Linked DNA regions of Homo sapiens: regions 2, 3, 4 and 5 are each linked to region 1. Evidence: promoter capture Hi-C in 16 types of primary human blood cells and fetal thymus (Javierre and others, 2016). All regions are on one chromosome and are shown on one strand. Each heading gives the region's core, a stretch centred on a gene start or on the middle of the fragment in contact. The rest is flanking DNA. Distances are from core to core; before and after follow the strand shown. Region 1 holds the start of SLC35G2 (solute carrier family 35 member G2). Region 2 overlaps PCCB (propionyl-CoA carboxylase subunit beta). Region 3 has its middle 11 kb from the start of PCCB. Region 4 has its middle 14 kb from the start of MSL2. Region 5 overlaps PCCB (propionyl-CoA carboxylase subunit beta).

Evidence for each region. The method cuts DNA at HindIII sites, captures the fragments that hold promoters and counts their contacts. A CHiCAGO score of 5 or more calls a contact.
Region 2: a fragment that was not itself captured here is called in contact with the fragment with the promoter of SLC35G2 in region 1 in 1 of 17 cell types (neutrophils); the score reaches 7.1 in neutrophils.
Region 3: a fragment that was not itself captured here is called in contact with the fragment with the promoter of SLC35G2 in region 1 in 4 of 17 cell types (neutrophils, total CD4 T cells, fetal thymus and 1 more); the score reaches 6.3 in neutrophils.
Region 4: a contact is called between a fragment that was not itself captured here and the fragment with the promoter of SLC35G2 in region 1, in 1 of 17 cell types (fetal thymus). The highest score is 5.1, in fetal thymus.
Region 5: a fragment that was not itself captured here is called in contact with the fragment with the promoter of SLC35G2 in region 1 in 1 of 17 cell types (neutrophils); the score reaches 6.0 in neutrophils.

What each region holds. Positions count from the first base shown.
Region 1 is chr3:136,817,736-136,820,435 of GRCh38, reverse strand. It overlaps SLC35G2 (solute carrier family 35 member G2), which reads right to left and starts at 1,310. Exons shown (of 2, transcript NM_025246.3): 1 at 808-1,310. RefSeq lists silencers at 113-162, 1,226-1,285. The HindIII fragment of the contact is 16,057 bases long and covers 1-2,700 here.
Region 2 is chr3:136,280,632-136,283,418 of GRCh38, reverse strand. The region is part of intron 5 of PCCB (propionyl-CoA carboxylase subunit beta); the gene reads right to left. Among named protein-coding and RNA genes, the nearest start is that of PCCB, 32 kb to the right of the region's middle. The HindIII fragment of the contact is 8,625 bases long and covers 1-2,787 here.
Region 3 is chr3:136,237,955-136,240,654 of GRCh38, reverse strand. No RefSeq gene overlaps it. Among named protein-coding and RNA genes, the nearest start is that of PCCB, 11 kb to the left of the region's middle. The HindIII fragment of the contact is 2,133 bases long and covers 325-2,457 here.
Region 4 is chr3:136,209,077-136,211,776 of GRCh38, reverse strand. No RefSeq gene overlaps it. Among named protein-coding and RNA genes, the nearest start is that of MSL2, 14 kb to the right of the region's middle. The HindIII fragment of the contact is 2,568 bases long and covers 91-2,658 here.
Region 5 is chr3:136,255,248-136,257,947 of GRCh38, reverse strand. It overlaps PCCB (propionyl-CoA carboxylase subunit beta), which reads right to left. Exons shown (of 15, transcript NM_000532.5): 2 at 1,973-2,092; 3 at 1,325-1,393. Among named protein-coding and RNA genes, the nearest start is that of PCCB, 6.3 kb to the right of the region's middle. The HindIII fragment of the contact is 3,549 bases long and covers 1-2,700 here.

The sequences.
Region 1 (2,700 bases), core at 61-2,560:
TGGGCCTGCTCCACTCTGGCCACCAGCCATGGAGATGGGCTATTTTTGGCAAAGGTGCAGAGTAGAAGGGCAACGCAGGCCGCGGCCCAGGAAGTCAGTCGACGAGGGCGCGCGAGGCACTTCAGCACCACGGACATAGGCAAGCCTGAGCCAAGTCCTTTCCCGCGGAGGAAGATCGCTCCTCCGGAGCTACCCCCAGCCCTCTGGACCTACCCCCAGCCCTCTGGACCCACCCCCAGCACTCTGGACGTGGGGGGTTACTATCTCCAGGTCCTCGATCAACACTCGGACCCGAGCTTTCCGCCTCGCTCCTCGCGGAGCCGGGTGAAAGAAAACCTGGCCCGAGATGCAGGTCCGCGCTGAGCCTTCATCCGCCGCAACACGAGTCTCTTTCCTGCCGGCCCGCGCGACCCTTCTTCCCTCTCCTCCTCTCAAATGAGGCCAAATGGGTGCACGTGGCGTAGAAATTCTACAGCGCCCAGAGCACTGTGAGGAAAGATTCGCCTTTTCCTCCCCGTGGCTGCTGGAGGCTGTGCGGACTTGCCCTGAGCCTTCTCCGCCACTCTCGGCCGTGACGAGGCCCTTCCTCCACTAACCCTTGCCCTCGTCTTCCCTTGGGAAAAGATGTCTACAAACCGTCGATGTACCACGAAAATCTCAGCGCCCACAGACTGGCGTTCAAGAGTCATGGACATGAGACAAGAGAGTAATGGAAAATACAAATTCTTGGCCATATTTCTAAAATCATCCAGCCTTTTTTAAAACTTGTATTTGAAATTGATCCCATATGACGCCACAGTGACTCACCCCTTGCTTGGGTTGGCTACTGGGCGAGAGGAAAGCAACAGCCCCTGGCCTTCATCATGGACGCTGCAGGAGGGCCCAGACACGCGACAGCGGAAAGAAACGGGAAACCGGGCCGTAGCCGATGCTGGCCCTCCCGTCCCCGTGTCCCGGTTCTCCAGGAGGGCAGCACAGAGAAATGCGGGCCCCGCGGCCTTTCAGGCGTCGTGCAGAGCACCCCGAAGTCTGCAAAGCGGGCGGGGCGCGTCGCCCCCAGCCCGGCCCTTACCCAAAAAGACTGTTGTGCCCCTTAGGTGTGGCGGCTAAACGCGGGTGTGTGGAGTTCGGGGTCCGCTCTCATTCCCTTGTCGGGCGGCCGGGCAGGCAGGATCAAGGTCCCAGTCCGCCGCCGCCGACCGGCTCCCGGGGCCCGGTTACCTGCGTGTCGTGGCGAGGAAGGTGCCCCGGAGGCGACTGACGCGGGCGTGCCCTCGCCTGGGAAAATCGAGGCGGGCGCTGCCCGGAGTACTGCGGAGGGAGAGGGGCGCCGCCGCGCGGACTCTGCGCCTGCGCTCTCCGCCCTCCGCCGCCCCCACCCCACAACCTGACTGGCGCCGGAGTTGGAGACTGCGGGGGACGCTCAGGGTTGTGCCTGAACTGAAGGACTTCCTCTACCCGCGAGGTGGGAGGGTCCACGGGAAAGCGCCCGCCCGGGCCCCTCTAGCTTACGCCCTTGGAGGGCGCTTGTTTGAAGCAATTGCCTGTCTGCCAGGGCTACGTAGTCCGCTGCAAGTGGGCACGGAGGCAGTTTCTGTCCATTTCCACCCATTGTTTGCGCTTAAAAGTCGCAAGTCTATTCCTTCATGTTTAAATATGTGTCCAGCATCGGAAAATCGTGGTCCGGAAAAGTCTTCGGGCATCCCCGAGTCCACCCGCCATTTTACTGATAAGGTCTCTGAGGGAAGGGTCTTGACACTGCACAGCTGGTTCTTCTACCCAAGTGCATATGCCCCAGTCCCAAGTGGAATGAATATAGCCTCTTGGAAACAGACTGGTCATTAAAAGCAGTGGATTTGATGGGTCCAGGGGACAGGCAAGAAAGGGTAAGGGCTGAACCAAGGTGCTGGCTGTGGGAAAAAACAGGAGGTGCTTGCTGGTTTTTCCTCTGTCCCTTCAGACCCACTCTCCACTCTGCTCTGTGACTCAGGACTGACCTTTATGGGCTACGTCAACTATAATCTGGCTTTCAATTGGTTTTGGCAAGTGGGAGGCACCTGCAGATCAGAAGGCAGGATGTGATTCAGGACCTCCCCTGCATCCCCAGCGGGCCACCCTGTTAGCAGTGGCTATGTTCTTCATCTGAAAGCCATTACTCCCATCCTGTGGCCCTCTCCTGCAGTTTTCTCCAGGTTCTGGTTACCACTAACTACCCTTGCCCCTTCAGGCCTGGAGTGGGTAATGACGCCCAGAGGTTTCCTTTAACCCCATCCACACCTTTTTAAATAGTCCCTTCATTAAACTCTCCTCAACTATCCCATCTTTTCCCCACCTTTCCAGGACGCTATAATAGATTTTAGTCCATTGCGGTTGGCAAAATTCATGAGGACAAAAATATATGTAAAAGAAATACGGGGCTTTTAAAAGGCGAGAAGTCTTCCAGAGCCATCTTGACAGTTCCCTGGGCTCCAGGCAGCCAGCATGCTAGGTGGTCTCCCCACTGGGCCCCATAGCCCGAGGGTGCTAGTTTAGGTAGACCCAAGAATGGAATTCAGACTGCTCATAAACAGTGTGATCACCAAAGGGCTGGGGATCATTTCAGAGTCCAGCATAACAGGATTTTGGATTCCTCTTGAGGTAGAGAGACAATCTAGATCTTTATAGAGCAAGTGCTGGTGCTCTCCCAACTACAGCTGGGCT
Region 2 (2,787 bases), core at 22-2,521, 540 kb after region 1:
TGAGTCCCTCCACACCCTCCACAGAAGGCACGCAAGGGTACAAGCAGGTGCTTCTTGACACTGAGTACCCAGTGTCTACTCTGCCCATCCCCAGACAAGGAATGCAGGAGAGAAGGCGGTAGAAGGAGCCAGAAAGCCTCCATAAGGACACTGTGTTGTGAAGGACTAAGCCTCAGGAAAGATAGGATGTGGGGGCTCAAAAGACCCAGGCAAGATGATAAAAGGCCCAATTATTCTTTGCCCTACTTCCAAATTCTTTCCTTCTCCTAAGTCCCATCAGCTTAGGAAAAGTAGGTTCACTTTTCAGCCTGCCTTGGCTCTAAGCCCAATCTATACACAGCTAAGGACAGTGCAAAATGTAATCTATGCTTTCTGCAAAGATATCAAGGTAGTAGGGGAGACTTCCAGCTGTGGCAGAGTGAAGAGTTCAGAAAATTCTCTCCCCAAAAACAACTGGACAGCATTGTCAAAAACGAGTATTTTGGGGTTCTAAAAATGAGCCAAATGTAACAAATTGAGAAGTGTTTATTCATGAAAAACTACTAAACTTGAGATAAGAACAGTGAAAGCCTGTGGCATTCTTAACCAAGGCTGCCACCATTGCCCATACCAGCTCAAAATGTCCTACTGGATGAAAGAAAATAACACCAGACTATAATTCAAATCCACAAGAACCAATTAAGAGTGCTGAAAATGATAAATATGTGATTATAAACACTGCATAAGTATAGTTCTCTTTTCTTAATACTTTGAAAAACAAGACTGTATAAAGCAATAATTAACACTGTTTTGAGTATTACATAACAATAAAAGCACAAATGAAGGGGGAGAAAATGGAGCTACATTGGAGCAAAGTTCCTGTCTTACCAGAATTAAGTCAGTATTAATTTGAAGCAGACTGTGATAAATTAAGAGATATATAGTAACCCTTAGAGCAACTACTAAAAATAACTCAAAAAATACAGCTAAAAAACACTAGAAATTAAAATGGTACACTAAAACTATATGCTTACCATAAAAAAACTGAGTGACATCACAGAAGAGAGAACAGGAAGCTCCAAGAATATCTGAGATCAAAACAACTATTCAGCTGTCTAAAGCAACTATTTTTGAACTCTGGAGTCTACTCAAACACTTCAGGGCCCAGAGGAGAATTTGATAAAACAGCAAGTAAATTTCAGTAAACTTCACATTTATTAATAACATGGCTGCTATAATCCCCCAGCCAACAACCCATGGCAGGTAGCCACGAGGATGTTCCTAGTGTAGCTAGTTGGTGCCAGATTGGGAAATTAGAACCTTTGCATCTTGGTTTTTCAACCTTGAAAAATCAAGGTTGTATGTTCTGATTACTGACCACTGCTTTTGATGGCTGAGGGGCTAAGCATAGAGGCTGGCATTGTTTCAACCCTGATTGGCTCAAGCAGCTTCCCAGCCACAAGGGATTTAAAAAGGTAGTTTGTTCCACACCCCTCCACACTTCTGGGAGACAGACATTTAAGGAAATTACTGTCAGATTGCTGGTTAAACACAGTGATAAGAGAACTAAAATTTCAATGTCCATATTAAAAAAGGAACATACTCTTTGCAAAAACAGCTTGCAAAAGTTCAAACAGATGGACCCAGCAGTTGACAAGCAAAAATCGGCTATTCCTGAAAAGTAGGAGAACTAGACTTCCAAACTTCCAAACATAATATTCAGAATTTCTCATCCTCAACAAAAATCACAAATCATACAAAGAAATAAGCAAGTATGGCCCATTCACAAGAAAAAAATAATTTAACAAAAATCATCTCTGAAGAAACCCAGATATTGGACTTAATAGTCAAAGATGGCACATGAACTGTCTTAAATATGTTCAATGAGCTAAAGAAAGCTGTGGGGGGAAAAAACTACAGGAAATCAGGAAATCAATGTCTGAACAAAATGAGAACACCACAAAGAGACAGAAATTATGAAAAGGAACCAAGCAGAAAGCCTGGAGTTGACAATAACTGAAATGAAAAATTCATTTCAGGGGTTCAACAGCAGACTTAAGCAAGCAGAAAAAAGGATCAGGAAACTGGAATACAAAACAAAATAATCTAGTATAAGGAACCAGAAAAAAGAAAAGGAGAAATTAATAGAGCCTGAGGGACCTGTGGGAAACCAAACATACCAATATACACATTATAGGAATCTCAGAAGAACAGAAAGAAAGGGTCAAAGATTTGAAGAAATAATGACTGAAAACTTCCCACATTTGATGAAAGACATAAGTATACATACCCAAGAAGCTCAACAAACTCCAAGCAGTATGAACTCAAAGAGATCTACACGGAGACATATTATAGTCAAACTGTCAAAACACAATAAGAGAAACTTGAAAGCAGCAAGATAGAAGCAACTGATCCCATGCAACTGATCCTCAGCAAGATTAACCATGGAGGCCGGAAGGCAGTGGGACATATTTAAAGTACTGAAAAGTCAGGTGCGCTGGCTCACACCTGTAATCCCAGCACTTTGGGAGAATGAGGCAGGAGGACCACTTGAGGCCAAGAGTTTGAGACCAGCCTGGACGATATAGTGAGCCCTGATCTCTACAGAAAGTTTTTTTGGTTGGTCGGGCATAGTGGTGTTCTACTAGCTACTCAGAAGGCCAAGGTAGGAAGACTGCTTGATCCTATAAGGTCAATGCTGCAATGAGCCATGATCATGCCACTGCACTCTATTCTGCGTGACACAGCAAGACCCTGTGTCTAAAATAAAAATAAAAACAAAATATTGAAAGAAGGCTGGGCACAATG
Region 3 (2,700 bases), core at 142-2,641, 580 kb after region 1:
ACTCTTTCTTTTTCCTTTATTCTCCATCCTCGCTTTTCCTATCCCTCTTCCAGCTGCTTAGAAAATTCTAAGGCAAGAGTCATGGCACTAGATTAAGAAATGTTTGTTTTAATTAGTGGCCTCTCTTCTTCTTTTTCTTTTATAATTCCTCCTGCATTTCTAAAAGACTATATGAGTTATGATACTTTCACAATTATTTTTATTATAATGGGTGATTTTGAGCTTTTGGTATGAATTATGCTGTTCTAAAGCAATTGAGGTTAACATCTAGAAACTGGAAACAAATTAGCTATTCATATATGACTCCCCATGAGATTATAAGCTTATTTTGGATAAGGACTCTATCATTTTTATTTCTGTGTTTCCAGTACCCAGTGGTTCCAGATACATGGGGTATTCAGTCATTGAAAGAACTTTCTCTCTTGCTACTCTAGTTTCTCTGTGAAGAGGGGATTATCTGACGCTCAGCTCCATTACTAGAGCCAGCTTCTTTCCCATGAACCATGGGAAACCTATCTAGTTTCCTACGGGTGGTGTTGACATTTAAGATATACTCACTGGGGAACATCAAAAGTAATAAAGATTGCCACCACACCCAGCCCTTTGCATTCTTTTGACCATGTCTTTTAATACACAAACTTTTAAATAAAATAGGTTTTATCTTCCTACCTGACATATGTATTTTCAAGGCTGGGTGCGGTGGCTCATGCCTGTTATTCCAGCACTTTCGGAGGCAGACGGATCATTTGAGATCAGGTGTTCAAGACCAGCCTAGCCAACACGGTGAAACTCCGTCTCTACTAAAAGTACAAAAATTAACTGGGCATGGTGGTACGCGCCTGTAATCCCAGCTACTCAGAAGGCTGAGGCAGAATGGCTTGAGCTGGGAGGTAGAGATTGCAGTGAGCCAAGATTACGCCACTGCACTCCAACCTGGGAGACAGAGCAAGACTCCGTCTCAAAAAAAAAAAAAAAAGTAATAAAGATCATTACTTTTTATTAGGATATGGTTCTTCCCATCCAACTCGCTCAAAATTTCAACCCTATGATTGATGTAAGTGTGATCCTGAGTGAATGAGAGAAAGAGGGAAGGTTGGGAAGAAGCATTCTTAGACTGCAGTGCAGTCTAAGGAAAGTCAGCAAGAGAACTAAATGAAGCGGTGCCACCACTGTACCTTCTGCAGTTACCCTTAGTTTGTTGTTTTGGAAAGACAGACAGAAGCAGGGGAGGGAAGGAAAAGAAAAAGTGAAAAGAAAAACAATATTGTTTGAAGGCTTAGAAAACAGCTGCAACAACAGAACTTTCCTTATAACCCCTTTTGTATGTAAGAAAGGATTAAGTAAATATTGATGCATTCCTCACTTCCAGAACAATTTATAGGCTAGAAAGGGCGCTGGAGAGGATTGCCCTCATTATGAGCTAGTGAAGGGTTTCTGGTAGGATGGAAAGCATGCTTTGGTGCTGTAAAACTGGATTCCAAATGATACTAACAAGCAGTGTAACTAGGCAAATCAGTTCATCTCTTTCAGCTACAGTTTTTTCACTTATAAAATCATGATAATAATATTGACCCTATAGAATAGTTGGAGGGATTAAATTAAGTGAGAAAACATATGTAGAGTACACGGTATGCAATAGATGTTTAATAAGTAAAAATCCCGGCAGGGCGCAGTGGCTCACGCCTGTAATCCTAGCACTTTGGGAGGCCAAGGCGGGTGGATTGCCTGAGCTCAGGAGTTCGAGACCAGCCTGGGCAATATGGTGAAACCCTATCTCTACTAAAATAAAAATAAAAATAAAAATAAAAAACTAGCTGGGAGTGGTGGCATATGCCTGTAGTCCCAGCTACTCGGGAGGCTGAGGCAGGAGAATTGCTTGAACCCGGGAGGCGGAGGTTGCAGTGGGCTGAGATGGTGCCACTGCACTCCAGCCTGGCAACAGAACAAGACTCCGTCTCAAAAAAAAAAAAAAAAAAGTGATAATCCCACTCTAGTTTGGAAAGAGAATCCAGAATAGATGGGAAAGACAATGTACATGAGAACTGATCCTGGATACCTAAAGAAGAAAATGAATTATTGGAAGGAAGGAATTATCAAGGGGGATAGAAAAGAGTCAAAAAGCAAGATAATCTAGAAGCAGAAAAACACAGCTAAGCTCATGCCACAAGAACAGTGGACATTGACCTAGATACCACTATTGACAGACCTTGCTGTGACTGCTTCTGGATTTGCAAGGCCACTGTGAATAGTTTTCATACTATTGCGTATCTTTGCATAGTGGGCTCCCCCACTTATAATATTGAGTGGGAACATCAAATTGGCAGAGACTGAGTAACATGCTCACACCCCAGCATGAGAAAGATCTTAGAAAAGGACAAATGATCTCTATATTGCTTAAAATAATGCTAGCAACTGTAACAAACCCCAAGGTTTAAGTTACTTAACATAATAGAAGCTTGTTGTTTACCCTGACATTCTAGTGTAGCTATTCTTCCACACGGTGGGCAGCTTTCCCCCTTGCGGTGATTTAAGGACCCAGGCTTCTTCTGTCTTGTGGGTTCATCATCCCTAGATTTGTCTGTATTCAACTGGAGAATGGGGAAGAAGACAAGTGGAAGGGAAGCCCTGTTTATTAAAGACCCCACCTCCACCTGGACGCAAGGGCAAGGATGACAATGTACTCCCTGGCTGGCCAGCCAC
Region 4 (2,700 bases), core at 125-2,624, 610 kb after region 1:
GCTGGTTAGAAGGTGCTGACTCAGCTGGGAGGTGGGCCCTTGTGTTCCCGTTTTGCCTTGCTGTTAGTTGAAATGTGAAATGCTGAAGCTTCAGGAGCCATCTTGGACTATTAGATAACCTTGAAGGTAGAAGGTATATATTTGGATGGTAGAGTATGAAGACAGAGCCTGGATCCCTGATAACAGTGGAACTGCCATACTAACTGTGCATGGCTTTCTTCCAGACTTTCTTTTTTACATAGAATAAGCCAATTTCTATTTTGCTTTAGCATTGTTATTTTAGGTTCTCTCTGATTTCGGCTAAATCCAATTCTGATTCAAAGTTTTAAATTAGACTATATTTTATTAACTAAAAATAACCAAAGTTATGGAATCTGCCCAAGACATAACATAGGGACAAGAAAGGGCAATTTAATACAGCAATGTTCAAAATAGTCATTGGATAATTTTAAAAAGTCAAACACTGGGGGCCTTCTGTGGTTTATTTTTATTTTTTTAAACTGAGGCAGGGTTTTGCCATGTTGCCCAGGCTGGTCTCGAACTCCTGGGCTCAAGGGATCCACCCACCTTGACCTCCCAAAGTGCTGGGAGGTTGCGCCACCCACCGCCAAGCTCCACTATGCCCAGTTCCTCTGTAGTTTTGAAGAATATCGTTTCAGTAGAGTTGTGGGGAGAGAAATCTGATTTTAAGAGACTAAGAAATAGTTAATTAAAAATCAAAATAAGGTTTAATTCTTGCAAAAGATTGACAGATCACAAAACAGGACAGATGTGGACTGAAAGATGGATTTGGGAGCATACAGCATAGCTGGGCAGAACTGGGGAAGATAGTAGTGAGGGACAGAAGGCTGAAGACGTTAAGACCTGGAAAGTTTCTATGCTCACCACTATACCACCGGATGCTGAAGAAGTAGGACTTGGGAAAACCATGGAGCAAATTCCTGGAGGAAACCAGAAACAGAGAAAAGAATGACAGGAAGGGGAATTGTGGAATATTTTGATGTAGAAAAGAAGGAGATCTTTATTTTCTCCTTGGAGGTAAAGAAAGAGGTAAAGTCCTCTGCTAAGAATTGGAAGGCAGCCGGGCACGGTGGCTCATGCCTGTAATCCCAACACTTTGGGAGGCCAAGGTGGGTAGATCACCTGGGGTCAGGAGCTCGAGACCAGCCTGGCCAACATGGTGAAACCCTGTCTCTACCAAAAATACAAAAGTTAGCTGGGCATGGTGGCATGTGCCTGTAATCCCAGCTACTCTGGAGGCTGAGGCAGGAGAATTGCTTGAACCCGGGATGTGGAGGTTGGAGTGAGCCGAGATTGCGCCCCTGCACTCCAGCCTGGCGACAGAGCAAGACTTCATCTAAAAAAACAAAAACAAAAACAAAAAAAAACAATGTGGGGATGTGGAAAAGGTTCAGGAAAGCCCCACAGCACAGTTAAGGACTATAACCTTCAAATGAGACTTTAATGGTAAAAGAAGTTACCATTTGGGATGCCTATTGTCTGCTGGTTATTATGCTAAATTATTTACACACATTACCTCACTGAAAATGAAACATCTTTCCAGTTTGCTGCCTACCTCTCCTTCTGATTCTCTTTTGTGGGATCCTTTCCCTCTGCACTTTGTTTAAATATTGGTGGTCATCACAACTTCATTCTTAGCATTCTTCTCTTCTTACTCCTCCTGGGTAATTTCTATCACTCCCATAGTTTCTATTGCCATATGCTGCTGACTCCCAAGTCTATACCTTCAAATCAAATCCCTCACCCCTATACCCAGGATGCCAGATTCATTTATCCAACTGCCTATTGGACATTTAATTTGGATGTCCCATAGCCACTTCACACTGTACCTGTCCAAAACCTATATTCATAATTTCCCTCCAAACCTATTTTTCCTACTGAGTTCCCTCCCTTTGTGAATTTATAGAATAGTGTTAAGAGTAGCGATTCTGGAACCAGACTGCCTGGATTCAATTCTTACCTTATGTTAGCTGTGTGACCTTGAACAAATTATTAGACCTATGTGCCTCAGTTTCCTCATGTGTGAAATGGGGATAATAATAATAGTACTTACTTCATAGTGTTGTTGAGCATATTAAATGAGTTAATATATTTAATTTTTATTTTAGACAGGATCTCACTCAGTTGCCCAGGCTTCAGCTCAGTGGCATGATCATGGCTCACTGCAGCCTTGACCTCTCAGGCTCAGATGATCCTCCCACCTCAGCCTCCTAAGTTTGTGCCACCACGCCCAGATAATTTTTTTTTTTTTGAGACCGAGTTTCGCTCTTGTTGCCCAGGCTGGAGTACAACAGCACAATCTCGACTCACTGCAGCCTCCGCCTCCCAGGTTCAAGCGATTTTCCTGCCTCAGCCTCCCAAGTAGCTGGGATTACAGGTGCCTGCCACCACACCTGGCCAATTTTTGTATTTTTAGTAGAAATGGGGTTTCACCATGTTGCCTGGGCTGGTCTTGAACTCCTGGACTCAAGTGATCCACTCACCTCGGCCTCCCAAAGTACTGGCATTATAGGTATGAGCCACTGTGCCCAGCTTCAAGGTATTATTATTATCTCCATTTTATAGATAAGAAAACTAAGGCTCAGAGAACTTGAATAATTTTTCCCAAATCTACACAGTAAGTATTGAAATAAAGCTTTGTTCATGCTATTCCACTGCCCCATGCTCCCTCTCAAAGCT
Region 5 (2,700 bases), core at 49-2,548, 560 kb after region 1:
ATTATTTTTTTGTTTGAGATGGAGTCTCACTCTGCCACCCAGGCTCGAGTGCAGTGGCGCAAACTCGGCTCACTGCAACCTCCGCCTCCCAGGTTCAAGCGATTCTCCTGCCTCAGCCTCCCAAGTAGCTGGGATTACAGGCACCCACAACACCCAGCTAATTTTTGTGTTTTTAGTAGAGATGGAGTTTCGCCATGTTGGCCAGCTGGTCTCAAACTCCTGACCTCAGGTGATCCACCCATCTCAGCCTCCCAAAGTACTGGGACTACAGGCATGAGCCACCACGCCTAGCCAATTTTAATATCAAACTTTAGGTCTGTAAAAAGACCTAAGCATTTTAAATTATATACATATTTCCACCTCTGGAGAGAAAAAAGTCAAATCCAAAATAGTACACAACATATTCTGTGTTAGTTTTCTATTACCGCTATAACAAATTAATATAAATTCAGTGCCTTGAAACAACACAAATGTATTATCTTATAGTTCTATAATTTAGAAGCGCTACACAGGATTGACTGGGCTAAAATTAAGGTTGGCAGGACTGTGCTCCCTTCTGGAGGCTCCAGGGGAAAATGTGTTTTCTTGCCTTTACCAGCTCCTAGAGACCATGGGCACTCCTTTGCTGATGGTCCCCTTCTCCCATCTTCAAAGCCAGGTACTGCAGATCATGTCCTTCTCATATCACATCCTTATAAGCTCCTCTTCTACCTCCCTCTTCCACTTTTAAGGACCCTGTGATTATATTGGGCCCACCTGGATAAATCAGGCTACTCTCCCTATTGCAAGGCCAGCTGATTAACAACCTTCATTCCCTTTTGCGTGTAAAATAACATATTGATAGCTTTGGCTATGTGTGTGAACAAACTGTATCTGTCTTGATGCACCCTGATAAAATTTTCTGAACATATTCATGAAAGCCCAAAGCTCAGGGGGACTCTGGTTCTGAGAGTCAAGTCCCCTTTGCGAGGCTGCACCCACTGCACTCTCTCTAGTCCACATACACTGCCCAGGACACAGATGCCCTACAGGCACACACCCAACCCAGCTAAGAGGAATCTCATTCACTTGGAATAAATTCCTGGTTCTTGGGATACCTTTGTACAAGGCTAGTGCCCTGTGATCCCCCCCAAAACAGACTAAGGACTCTTCCTAAGTAAAAAACACACAATATTCTGGAAACACGCACTGAAAAGCAAAGCAAATCCCTCATTTTCCCCAAACTACAAGCAAGTTTTCATTCCCCAAGATTGGCTTCTTTCACATATTTTCCTCTTGGCTCTGCCCTCCAAGAAAAGTTCAGACTATTGGAGTTATGAAATACCTGACTGAAGACATAAACCAATCTTCCATTGATTCGGCCTCGTCCAGTGACCACGCTGTCTCCAGGAAACTACCAGAAAAATGCAAAAATAAAGGTTAAAAAATCCAAATACTTCTTCTAATGAGTTTGGCCACTATGCCTCAATGAAAGACAAAAACAAAACCCAAATTCCTAAAACGTCAATATGAACAAGGAACATGAAGGAATCCCACCCCACTTTCCCAGCTCTACAACAGCAAGCACAGGGCTACTACTTCATCAATAGGAGTGAATGGCACTGTCATCTTAGGCCTTATGTACCCTCCTAAAAGCAAAACAATCAAGACCCAGGGCCACCACTTCTCTATGCTTACATGAAGGAGGACGTATAAAGAAACACAAGGCAGGGTACGGTCGCTCACGCCTGTAGTCCCAACACTTTGGGAGTCCGAGGTGGGTGGATTGCTTGAAGCCAGGAGTTCAAGGCCAGCCTGACCAACATGGCGAAAGCCCATCTCTACTAAAAATACAAAAATTATCTGGGCTTGATGTCTGCAGTGCCTCTGCAGAGGACTTCAGATAAAAGCCTTATAGATTTATTATTATTCTAGTGGGTAGGCCAGCTGAGCCACACCTAAAAAGTGTTCACACCACCATTTGAACAAATACCTTATTCTTATCAGCAGCCATTCCAAAATCTGCACATCTGTGTTCCACAAACATGTCGCTCTCAACAAAGCTGCCAGGGTCCAGCAAGAGACTGATCCTCTCCCTGGCTGTTAGCTTTCCCTACAATGGAACAAAGATCACTCAGTGATGTCATCACAGACAATTTAGTAAGCAAAGCAAGGGCTGTTCATGGGAGGGCTTGAAGGGCAGATTTGCCCGTTGATCTCAATGCAAGTACTTTCATTCTATCCAACCTGCCCAAGGCAGATAGGTGTTATTAGTAGACTTTAGATGACATGGAAATCAGGACAGACAGTGTGCGCCAGAAGCCACCCAACTGTGGAAGATGAATAAGGAAATAGGACGAGGAAAAGGTAGAGAGAAGTGGGGATAAGGAGAACCTGACCCTGGAACACAATTAATTAGTTCCACAAATACTTACTGGAGACCTAAGGAGCCATAAAAAGAATGCAGAAGCAGGTGGTGGAAACTAAAGCAGGCTTAGTGAAGGATCTGACACAGGTTTTTTCTAGGGAGACCTACAGAAGCACACCTCACCTCACGAGGGTCCCTACTGCTCCCAGCTCCCACCTCAAGGACACGCTACTTCCTGGTTCTTCTCCTGCCTCCTCTGTGGGCTTCTCCTTCTCCTACTATCCTATCCCCTGTTTAGGGACCCCACACCTGACAGTGACACTGTGACACAGAGATGACCCCACAGCAGGGAG